Linked DNA regions of Homo sapiens: all the other regions are linked to region 4. The links are contacts of gene promoters, found by promoter capture Hi-C in blood cells and fetal thymus (Javierre and others, 2016). All regions are on one chromosome and are shown on one strand. Each heading gives the region's core, a stretch centred on a gene start or on the middle of the fragment in contact. The rest is flanking DNA. Distances are from core to core; before and after follow the strand shown.

What was found. The method cuts DNA at HindIII sites, captures the fragments that hold promoters and counts their contacts. A CHiCAGO score of 5 or more calls a contact.
Region 1: a fragment that was not itself captured here is called in contact with the fragment with the promoter of PSMC5 in region 4 in 5 of 17 cell types (neutrophils, naive CD4 T cells, total CD8 T cells and 2 more); the score reaches 6.2 in neutrophils.
Region 2: a contact is called between a fragment that was not itself captured here and the fragment with the promoter of PSMC5 in region 4, in 8 of 17 cell types (naive B cells, naive CD4 T cells, neutrophils and 5 more). The highest score is 7.7, in naive B cells.
Region 3: the fragment with the promoter of PRR29 here is called in contact with the fragment with the promoter of PSMC5 in region 4 in 6 of 17 cell types (naive CD4 T cells, activated CD4 T cells, M1 macrophages and 3 more); the score reaches 7.3 in naive CD4 T cells.

What each region holds. Positions count from the first base shown.
Region 1 is chr17:63,635,563-63,638,262 of GRCh38, forward strand. All of the region lies in intron 2 of MAP3K3 (mitogen-activated protein kinase kinase kinase 3), which reads left to right. It also overlaps the pseudogene EEF1DP7. Among named protein-coding and RNA genes, the nearest start is that of MAP3K3, 14 kb to the left of the region's middle. The HindIII fragment of the contact is 1,408 bases long and covers 648-2,055 here.
Region 2 is chr17:63,678,491-63,681,190 of GRCh38, forward strand. The region is part of intron 6 of MAP3K3 (mitogen-activated protein kinase kinase kinase 3); the gene reads left to right. Among named protein-coding and RNA genes, the nearest start is that of LIMD2, 20 kb to the right of the region's middle. The HindIII fragment of the contact is 1,353 bases long and covers 592-1,944 here.
Region 3 is chr17:63,996,865-63,999,609 of GRCh38, forward strand. It overlaps PRR29 (proline rich 29), which reads left to right and starts at 1,487. Exons shown (of 6, transcript NM_001164257.2): 1 at 1,487-1,560; 2 at 1,843-1,918; 3 at 2,104-2,210. The coding sequence starts at 1,501. PRR29-AS1 (PRR29 antisense RNA 1) reads right to left here. Exons shown (of 3, transcript NR_126169.1): 1 at 1,461-2,745; 2 at 901-1,058; 3 at 1-399. RefSeq lists a silencer at 1,370-1,419 and an enhancer at 1,673-2,650. The HindIII fragment of the contact is 13,369 bases long and covers 1-2,745 here.
Region 4 is chr17:63,826,116-63,828,871 of GRCh38, forward strand. It overlaps PSMC5 (proteasome 26S subunit, ATPase 5), which reads left to right and starts at 1,316. Exons shown (of 12, transcript NM_002805.6): 1 at 1,316-1,399; 2 at 2,023-2,094. The coding sequence starts at 1,376. FTSJ3 (FtsJ RNA 2'-O-methyltransferase 3) reads right to left here and starts at 1,548. Exons shown (of 21, transcript NM_017647.4): 1 at 937-1,548; 2 at 721-813; 3 at 452-557; 4 at 143-189; 5 at 1-20. The coding sequence starts at 787. RefSeq lists enhancers at 661-1,860, 997-1,276, 1,657-1,706. The HindIII fragment of the contact is 8,506 bases long and covers 1-2,756 here.

The sequences.
Region 1 (2,700 bases), core at 102-2,601, 190 kb before region 4:
AGTCTCAGCAAATGCATTTCTAGGAAAGATAGGGTAAGAGGTAGTGCGGGGAAGATGTTGGGGAGAGGTATTTATAGCCTAGTATAATGAAAGGAGCCTGGTGATATTAATAATCATTTAACATCGGATTTTATAATTCACAGAGTTACACATTTATTATTATTATTGTAGTTTTTGTTAGCCTAGGCCTGAGATAGAATGAAACAGTTTTCTTCATTACCAGTTCTTCTGCCAGAAAGTCCATGCTTAGGAAGAGAGAGGAATGAAAGATCAAAACCTAATTTAAATGGTGAAGAGTTGCCAAATTTGGTTAAGAAATGTCTAATTGGATTACAGATTCAAATTACAGAGTCCCAGTTGAAAGAAGCTAAGCATTTTGGCTAGCTGGAAAGGTTGTTTATTCAAGGGTGGAATGGGGCTGGCAGAGGCAAACAGCCTTTCACTATGAGAATGGCAGTGCTGGCTACAAGGCAGAGTCGAGACTGGCACAGCTTCATGGAGCTCAAGCTTGGCCCAGCAAGGAAAGCCAGAGGAGCTGTGGGTTCATTAACAGGATTGTTTGGGTGCCGAGGCCTGGAAGAACTGAAAAATCTAATTTAATATCTCTGCTTAGCAAGACTTGAGACATCCTTTTCCCTAAGTAAACAAGCTTGGTAAGTAATTGAAAAAGAGAATGGATTTGAGAACAAATAGGCAGCTATGGAAGTACATGGGCAGTGAGCTATTAACAATTTTCTAGGAGGTAGATTCTGTATTCTCTGTATTCTAGGAGTACAGAGAATACTGTACACTAGGAGCATTTGCTGTATTCTCCCTTTTGTATATTGGGTCTCTGGAAGCCTACAGCGTGGTTAGAGCTGACTGAATATTCTTAGATGTGTGGCACATCCTACGTGTGGCTGGGTCCTATGGATAGTTTTGCAGGCCATGATGTGCAGTGTCCCTTTAGCAGTCATTAACTCACAGTGAGTTATCAATGGGTGTTAGTTCTCTGTGGGTCTGACAACTTAGTATAGTGAAAAGAGTGCTGGCCTGTGGCTGAACATGCTGGAGAAGAGCTTGCCTGGCCACAGGGACACAGCCACGCAGATCCAGCATGTGTCTCCCATGTGCCAAGTGGAGCCCCCAGCCAAGAAGGCAGCCACACTAGCAGAGGGTGACAAGGACAATGACATTGACCTGTTTGTCAGCGACAATGAGGAGGAAGACAAGGAGGCAGCCCGGCTGTGGGAGAAGTGGCTGAGGTGGTATGTGGAGAAGAAGGCCAAGAAGACTGCGTTGGTGGTCAAGTCCTCCATCCCGCTGGACATCAAGCCTTGGGACAATGAGACCAATATAGCCCAATTGGAGGCCTGTATGCGCTTCATCCAGCTGGACGGGCTGGTCTAGGGGGGCCTCCAAGCTGGTGCCCATGGGCTACGGTATCCGGAAGCTGCAGATTCAGTGTGTGGTGGGGGACGACAAGGTGGGGACAAACTTTCTGGAAGAGGAGATTACCAAGTTTGAGAGCGTGTGTAGAGTGTCGATGTTGCAGCTTTCAACAAGGTCTGAAGCCTTAGAGTGTGTGTGCGTGCATGCGCACGTGTGCAAGTGTGTGAGGCCCTGCCACTATTAAAAACTGAGACCAACCAAAAAAAAAAAAAAAAAAAGAGTACTGGCCTAGGAGTCATAGAGTTGTTACTCATCTATTAATGTAGGATTTTATAATTTATAGAGTGCTTTCAACAACAGTTAACATCAATGCTATAAGCATGTGTATAAGGTTTACACAGCTTTTACACAAAGGTATTGAGTAGAGGCAGGAAGTAAATCCAAGCCTTCTGATTCCTAGTCACCGTAATTTTACCATGTATAAGTCATATAACCTTTCTGAAGTGAGTTTTTCCATCTGAAATATAGACTTAATACTCACTGTGTCTACCTCTTAAGATTGTTGTAAGATCATAGACAGAATGTGAAATATTTTGTACATTGTAAAACAAATGTACAAATGTGAAGTTGCAGTGGTTATGTCACTTCTTATGTTCTGGCACTGCAGGTGTGAGCTTTGGGGAAAGCTTCTAACTACAACTGTCCATAGTGTTGTGGAACTGAAAGGATTAAGGTTTTTCTCTCTTTATGGGATTATCATTACTGTTTATCTGATGATCTTTGCAAATTTCTGAAGCTAGCCTAATTTCTGAAAATCCCAGTGGAGGAAGAAATGGAATCCTTATTTCCATGGATTCCTGTTTCCCTTGAATCTTATCAAAATGGTAGGTAGATACTTGAACAGAGTCTGGGCTCTGGATCTAACCCTCCAGATGTTCATGAGTGGGTGCTTCAGAACAGAAAAGCTGCTTTCTTCATGATAGGCACAAGCAGGGCAGGGCCTTGGCTATCATTTCTAGAGGAAGAGAATTCCAGGATCTGTTCCCCCAGCAGGGTCAGTGATTGAGCAGACTGTCTTTTGCTTTCAGTGTGAAAGACCTGGCTCTTCAGGACCTCCCTTCTCTTTCAAGGGTTGTTGATAAGATGGGCTGGCCAGTTTGAAAATAAGATATAAAACAACACACAAGCCTGGCATTATATTTTGTAAGAAGATTGCTTTATAATCGTCTCTTCCACTGATCTCCTACAACTTTCCAGAGTCATGCTTAAAAATAAAATTTTAATTTTTGTTGTATTTTTTTTTCCTTTCATTCACTTACTCTCTTTGGC
Region 2 (2,700 bases), core at 18-2,517, 150 kb before region 4:
CTGTTTTCAGAGCAATTTTGTTTCTGGCCTTTGCTCTGGAGTCAGGTGGGGAGGCCAGATTACTGAGGACCCCATGTTAGCTTTCCTGCCAGAGAGACATCCTTGGAGGGAGGCTGGGGTGATGTGTCCAAGAAGAGATTGGAAGTATTCTCCAATACCAGTTCAGTGGTGAATTCTCAAAATGTATTCAGCACAACCACATGAACCATATGTTCTGAACAACTGACTTAATATAGAAGAATTAAAGAGTCAGTTTCAACTGGGTGCAGTGGCTGACGCCTGTAATCCCAGCACTTTGGGAGGCTGAGACAGGCAGATCACCTGAAGACAAGAGTTCAAGACCAGCCTGGCCAACATGGTGAAACCCTGTCTCTACTAAAAATATAAGAATTAGCTGGGTATGGTGACGGCCACCTGTAATCCCAGCTATTCAGGAGGCTGAGGCAGAAAATTGCTTGAACCCAGGAGGCGGAGGTTGCCTTGAGCCAAGATTGTACCACTGCACTCCAGCCTGGGCAACAGAGCAAGACTCCGTCTCAAAAAAAAGAGTCAGTGTCAGTTTCTTAAAGGTCATTGAAAAACAATAGTTTAAGCTTCTTAGAAAATGTCTTTCAAAAAGCAACCCTCTGGCCAGGCATGGGGGCCCATGCCTTTAATCCCAGCACTTTGGGAGGCCAAGGCTTGAGACCAGCCTAGGCAACATAGCGAGACCCTGTTCCTAAAAGTGCACACACACACACAGAGCAAGCCTCCCCGCCATTCTTTTTTTCCATTAAGTATTTTTCTTCCTTCTGAGGGTCTTTGAAATAGTGGGAGTCTCTCTGGCTCAGGGAGTTTGTTGAGCTCCATCAGTCTGTCAGGCCCACCCTCTTTTCCGGGATGTTCTAAGACCCTGGACTGGGCTCTTGAGCACCCTCTGCTGTAGATGCTTAGTCCCTGGTGCACTACCTCTACTTCCAGGTACAGGCTGAGTGCTCCTGGCTCCACATGAGCTTTGTTGTTTTGTCTATGAGACAGGGTCGCACTCTATCACCTATGCTGGAGTGCAGTGGTCCAAACACGGCTCACTGCGGCCTCAACCTCCCAGGCTCAAGCAGTCCTCCTGTCTCAGTCTTCCAAGTAGCTGGGTCCACAAGTGTGCGCCTGGCTAATTTTTAAAATATTTTTTGTAGAGATGGGGTCTCACCATGTTGCCCATGCTGGTCTCAAACTCCTGGCCTCAAGCATTTCTCCTGCCTCTCGAAGTGTCGGGATAATAGGTGTGAGCCACTGCACCTGGCCACACATGAGTTTTTGAGCAATAGGAAATATATATACATATATGTATAAACATGTATACACACACACATACATAAAACTAAAACTGTGTATCTCAGATTTTCCATCTAAAACTGGTCTGGACTAGGGATCTATCATCAAGAAAGGAGAGAAGCCAGGCATGGTGGCACCTGCCTGTAGCTGAAGGGGGAGGATTGCCTGAGCCCAGGAGCTCAAGACTAGCCTGGGCAACAGAGTGAGACCCTGTCTCTGAAACAAAACAAAACAACAAAACAGAATAGAATGAGTCAGGTACTTCCCTAGGTCTCCAGCTACCAAACTTGGTCTCTCTTGCTTCCTTAGCCATTTCCACAGAGCATCTTGCCTGCAGTTCCATTTCAGAAAACCTAGTGCTACAGCCCCTGAACTAGACTGGAGAAACCAGCCAGCAAGGAAAGTAACCTGCATTGTTGAGGGATGGTACTACTCTATTCCTGGTGTCTGGGAATTGCTGGGTCGTGGGAGAGAGGTAAGGGGTGGTAGATAAGGGAATGGAGGGCTCTTGTGTCTCTGGTTTTCTAAACAACAGGATAAATTTGTTCCCTTCAGAACAGGAAAAGGGTTCAGGATAAGAGTCTTACGTTTAAGTTTTGAAGCTACAAGAAATATTTGTGTGGGTATAGTTAAAGCTTTTTTTAAACCTTCTGAAAATTGGCTCTTCTGGTTTGGTGAGCTTAGGAAGGAAAAAAGATGCAAACTTTTGGCCTCATTTTTGTCTTCTCTGATCATGGAAAGCAACACAGCCAGTCAGAAAAAGCTCTTGGGCTAGGAGGAAGGAGGACCTGATTTCTCGGACTCAAAATCCCTTATGGCAGAAAAACATTGCTCAGTGACTTACAAAGTGTGTCATTTGTAAGACTGCACACCTCTGTCATTCACTAACATTAGGATGATAAACCATTTCATCTTACAAGCTGATGTGGTGAAAGTACCTGTTAATTGGTTTTATAGTCTCTTATCTGTAAAACATAAATAATTGTTTTTGGGTGTTTTGGGTTTTTTTTTTTTTTAAGATTTAAGTTCCTTGAGTCTCCGTCTCCTCCTCTGTTAAGTAAAGCAAATGCTTACCTCTCAGGATTGTTGAAAGGATTAAGTGAAGTAACAAATGTAAAAATACCTTGTGGAATGATTGCCACTTAGCAGCCACTCAAAAAATATTTGCCAAACCTCTGTTGTAGAGATGTTGAAAATCAAATGAGGTTAATTACTGTGAATGTGTAACAAAAAGTAAAGCACCACATAAATGCAAGATAATATCATTACTCAGACCAACCTGAGCAACATAGTGAGACCCTGTCTCAATTTAAAAAAAAAAAAAAAAAAGGTAATATCATTACTCATAAGCCAGGAAGTGTGGGAGTGGGTAGGAATGGAGAAGCCTGC
Region 3 (2,745 bases), core at 237-2,736, 170 kb after region 4:
TCCCTGGACCTCTGCTCTCTGCCCAGCTCCTCTTCTACAGTCAGACAGTTTGACCCACCGGGTCATCTCAGGTCCTGTCCATTCATACACCTGGGTCTTGGCTTGGGCTCTGTCCCCAGCCTGATAGCGCCCGTCTTCCCCTGCTGCTTGGCCCCATCAAGGACTGACTTCCTTGGAACTCCATCCCTCAGCGGTCAAGTCCTCTCTTTTTCATTATCCCCGGGGCGTAGTCTTATCTTTCTGCTCTCTTTCCATGGATACATTTTCACTTCCCAACAATGCTGGGACAAGTGACCATACTGCTTATGCCTCCAGGGTTCAGATGGCACATTGCACACGCAGACACTTCCTTGGTCAAGGTTTGTTGATGATGAGCAAAATGGCTTGTTCTCTTTCTACCTGGAATGAGAATGGAGATGGAGAGAGGCATCTCTGTGTTCTACTCACTGGGGGGCTGTGACCCCAGTGCCTGGATCTCAGCTTGTTAATGGCTGTTGAAGCCATAAGACCCATGGGGACAGTAAAGTAATGCCCACAAGCCTGCTCCCCTAGAGACAGGTACTACGGAGCAAAGGAGGAGGTGGGAATGGTCTTTCTGGTTCTTACTCCAGGACTGGCAGGAAGGGGAGCTGACATGGAGAGTGGGGGAAGGGCTACTCGGGGTGCTAAGCCCAGCTTCCTGTCTGGATTTTCCTTGACTGCTGCCGGGGGCCTATCTTAGGATGGTCACAGCTGCAGAAATAGATCTCCCCCTTCACCTGTTCTTAAGCAAGGAAGACCTTGCTAACTTCCTGTCAAAAGAACGCGTGCTTTGGTAACTTTTCCAGTACGGGAGACAGTACTGGGGACGCGGGTGCTGAAGTCACCACGATTTTCCTCGTCTGAGGAGCAGTGGCTCACCTTGGCCAGGAAACAGGGCAAATAGCCGCAAGGAGAGAGGCGAGAAGCCGGCCACGTGTTTCCAGCCAGAGTCCTCAGCCTCTTCCGTGAATTCGGGCGGTGTTTCCTTCCTTGGTCTGCTCCAGAAACCACTCTTTCCTGGCAGGAAGCCCCTCTCTCTGTCAGAGTGACAGGGAACAGACCCTTTGTCCTCCTCACTCGTCTGCCCTAGCCCCCAGCCTGCTCCTGCAAAAGTCTCTGTTTCTCCTGAACTTTTCAGCTGAGTCAATCGGGCTCTGGGACCCCGAAACCAAGCCTCCCCAGTCACTCGCTTATTCACTCAACAAACACACCCCCCTTCCCCGCACTAACCCAGGCCCAGTTCTGGGAACCAGCAAGGGGAGGGGAGGGGAGCCCCGAGCAGCGCGGCGGGAGGTGGACATGCCGGGGAGGAGACTGGCCTCCTGGTGGCGGGGGAGGGCTCCTGGGGACCCCAAGTCCGCGGAGGAGGAGACAGGAGGGAGCAGGGAGATGGAAGACCCAGGAGCACGGGCGGGCTCCGCGCATGCGTGGGAAGAGACCTTGGCGTCCTCGGCGTCGCCAAGGCAACCGGCGCCAGCCATGGCCTCTGGGGCGGGCGGAAGCTGGGGTCGCTCCCCACCGCAGAGCGCAGTCCCGACGGTGAGGGCTGAGCCCGGGAGCAGATCCTGCCTTAGCTTGGGAGACGGCAGAGTGGGGAGCTGTCCCTGGAGGGGCCAGATCCTGGAGGGGTGGGGGACGAGGAGAGACAGCCCCAAACCGAGAGGAAGAGGCGTGGCAGGGAGCAGGGAGGCCGCGGGGCGGGGAGGAGAGAACCTGGCCCCTGCGGGGTTAGGGAGGCCACTGGCCGGGGGGGTTGGGGCTCGCGACGTGTCCCCATCCATTCCCCCCACCCCACCTGGCTGACTCCGCGCACACCCCCAGCCCTGGGTCACCTTCCTGCAGCCCCTCTCGTGGGCCGTCCCACCTGCGCCCCCGCAGCCAGGCCGCGTGAAGGAAGGTGAGACTCCCGGGTCCCCCCACCCCACCCCCACCATCACCACCACTCACCCTCTTCTGCCTCGCACATCCTCTGGGAGTCCCCGCAGCACAACCCGCCAACCCATTCTTCACCCCCGGGACAGGGGTGTCAGGGGGAGGGGGACTCGGAGGCCCGGCGTGGGCTTGCTGAACCCCGCTTCCTAGACCTGCTGGAACTGATGATGCTGCAGAACGCGCAGATGCACCAGCTGCTGCTGAGTCGCCTGGTGGCTGGAGCGCTGCAGCCCCGGCCTGCCTCGCCCTGCCCTCAGGTGCGTGTGGGTGGGCCGCCGGGGTCGCTCACCTGTGGGTCCAGGGATGCGGATCCACCTGGGGTTCCTGTTCAGGGGGGAAAAGAACTGGGAGACAGAGGAGCAGGAAGCCAGCCCGTCTCTCTGGCTGGGGCTGTTTGGCATCTGTCATGTTTCAGCCTCCATGAAAGGTTGGGGCGGGGAAGAGACCCCCCAAAGTCCAGACCACCGAGGTCTTGTTTTCAAGGAGGTTTCCCTGTAGTGCCTCCCCCACTGGACTTAAGGCTCCAGGAAGGTAGGCACCCTGGTAACCCTGCCCCATGCATCATGAGCGTCTGGCCTGGTGCCTGACACCGTGTAGGGGCTCAGCTGATATTTGTTGAACGAGTGAATGAATAAATGAATGGTTAGGGATACAAAGCCAGGTTGGCTGTGATGGCACATGGAGAGGTACAAAGCACAAGTGCACATAGGGTTGGGGGATGGGGACAGGCTCCTTGGAGGAGCAGAGGATCTTAGAACCAGCCCTTGAAAGCCAGGTAGGATTTTGACCCTT
Region 4 (2,756 bases), core at 66-2,565:
GATTGGAACCAGGTCCACTCCTGGAAGAAATCAGGTCAGAGTATTCTAAAAGGTTGCTTCAAGCAGGGAGGAGAGAAATACAGGACAAAATACCTTATACACCCACCCCTTAAAACACCAAGGAGAGCTGTCCGTTACTCACCCACAATAAGGCTGGATACAGGCATAAACTTGGCAGCTACCTGCAGCCTATAAAAGGAACAGAAATTTAAAAACCTAGAGCCATCCTTTTCCCCCTCTTGGCAACTGATCTCTCATCCCTGGTGTTACGTGTACTGGCCAAAGCATATCATAGGCACGTATTCCAAGCCCTTTCTCTGCAATCAAGAAAGGAAACGGCCCCCAAGAGGACCGGGATTCGGGTTCCCCTCCCGCAGTGAAACTGGAAGCCATCCCAGCTCAGAACCCAGAAAGCGGCCACCAGGAGCAACCTGTGGCGAGTGTTACGAACCATCCCCCTGGCGCAGCACACAGGTCCAGCAAGGCTCGGGCTTTCTGCAGGAACTGAAAGCGGCGATTGAGCTGGATCAGCTTGAAAGCAGATCGGGAACGGTAACCTGGACAAAACAACCAAGTGCGCAAACTGCTTCACTAGTAGGATTTCTCCGGCCTCGCAACCGACCACCCCTTCTGCAGGAGAGGTACATAATGGTCGCAAAGAGCAGGCGAACCGGGCAGAGATCGCTCGCTCGCTCGCAGACTGAGCGAATCCGGACTCACCCGTCTCCTTCGCCAAGTGATAAAACTTGTCTCGTCGGCTCTTGCCAACTTTGCCCTTCTTGCCCATGGTGGAAAGGGGGAGTATCCCTCAATCTGGGGAGAAAGTAGAAGTTGGGAACGTCTCTTTCCGGAGCACCAGATTCCACTTCCAGTTTCCCACTTCCAGTTTCCCACTTCCCGCAGCAATTCCACCCCGCGCCCCTCTCCGCACACTACCTAGACCCAGAGCCGCTTTCTCCACACTTGGAACCGCACAAGTATGCAGCTAACTACTTCCGCTTCCGCTTGCGTCCCCTGCGTCCCTGGCTCGAGGTTTTCCGCCATTTTGAGTGTGGCCCTAGATTGTTCTCAATACTCTGTCCTTGGGTTTTGTAAGTTGAAAGTTGAGACTAGGAAGGCATATCACAAGAACTATAAACAGAGTTTCAATGAGGCAACACTGAGGAGGAGTTCTACTCCTTCCTCATCCCCTTCCAAAGCCCCTGAACTCGAGTAGCCGCCCCTCCCATCATGGTTCCCTTAGTGTGGTCTCGCCGCACACCCCGCCCATTGACCCGGAATTCTTCTCTGCCTGGTCTTCAGGTCCCAATCCTCCGCTTCCGCGCTTGCGCGCCAAGACGGCTCGGATGCCGGCGGTCTCTGCTGAAGAGAGAAGATGGCGCTTGACGGACCAGAGCAGGTATGGCGGGTGCAGTGGCGGCCCGGCAGGTTACGGGGCTGGGTGCGGAGCGAGCGTGATCTGAGTGGAGAGCGGGCCGGGGCAGGAGCGTCGGGTGGGTCGGAGGTGCCTGGACCAGTCCATGCTGGACGCTGCCTGCGACCGGATCTGCTGTGTCAGCGCCGCCCTCGGTGAGTCAGGGCAAGGCTGGGAGAGGAAGACGCGGTAGAAGCGGAGTGAGTGAGGGAAGCGATGGGCGCGGGAATGGCCGGCCCACGGGTCGCAGGAGACGGGACGCCAGTCCTTTGGCTCCGTTCCGCTGGCTCCTTCGTCAGTACTGACACCTCGGGCTTGTAGAGCACTTCACGCAGTGCAAAGCGCCCCCCGTCTATATCATATCGCCTCTCGGTCCTCCTAAAAGTCGTATGAGGTAGGCGGCGTTCCCATTCTTTTATTTTAGTCCTGGGAAAATGGAGGGTTCCAAGGGAGGGAGGGATTAGAACCCAGATCCTGAGCCTCCGAAGTCCAAACTTTTTCTACTACGCAAAGCTACCTGGTGTCAAGCCTTATTCAAAGTGCCCTGCAAGTGGCTTTACCCCCTCGGATGTTTAACCTGTCGTTTAAGACTCACTCTGTGTCTTCAGATGGAGCTGGAGGAGGGGAAGGCAGGCAGCGGACTCCGCCAATATTATCTGTCCAAGATTGAAGAACTCCAGGTGAGGACGGACTCCAGAGGGAGCTAGGAAGGGTGATGATGGGGGATGGAAACGGACTTCCACAAATCCATCTAATTCCTTTGGGAGTGCAGTGGAAGAAGCTGCTGCTTCTCCTTTCTTGTTTGTTTCTTAGCTAGTAGGGTGTATGTATCAGAAGTAAGCAATCTCTTGTTCTCCTCCAGTCCCATCTCTTTGAGGGTCTTAGTGTTCACAGTTTGTTACACATCTTCGAGTCAAATCTTAATAGTAAAGGTACCTCTAGCCAAAGGTCAACCCTTTTGGAAGAAGCCCGAATGAAAAGGATTCTTATAAAAGGGAAACATAAGCTCAGGAGTTGAAATTTATCACCAAGAGGTTGGGTGAGGGTGAAGTGAGAATGTGAGGAAGGGCATCATTGAGGGATCTGGACAATGCTAATTCCATAGAGACTGAATGAAAGAAATTGGGCAACCCAGAGCCCTAGCCTAAAGCGCTAAACCATAGAAAAAGGACCGTTTATGTTGTTAATCAAATGTTTGTGTTACCAGTAAGGCTTCCAGCAGTAAGGTATGGCTTCCAGTAGTAAGCCTTACAGACAACATAAACAGTAGTCTGTTAGTGTTACGTTATACTGTTACGGTAGGCTGTTAGTAGTTTAACTTTGGACAGGTCCATGGATTTTC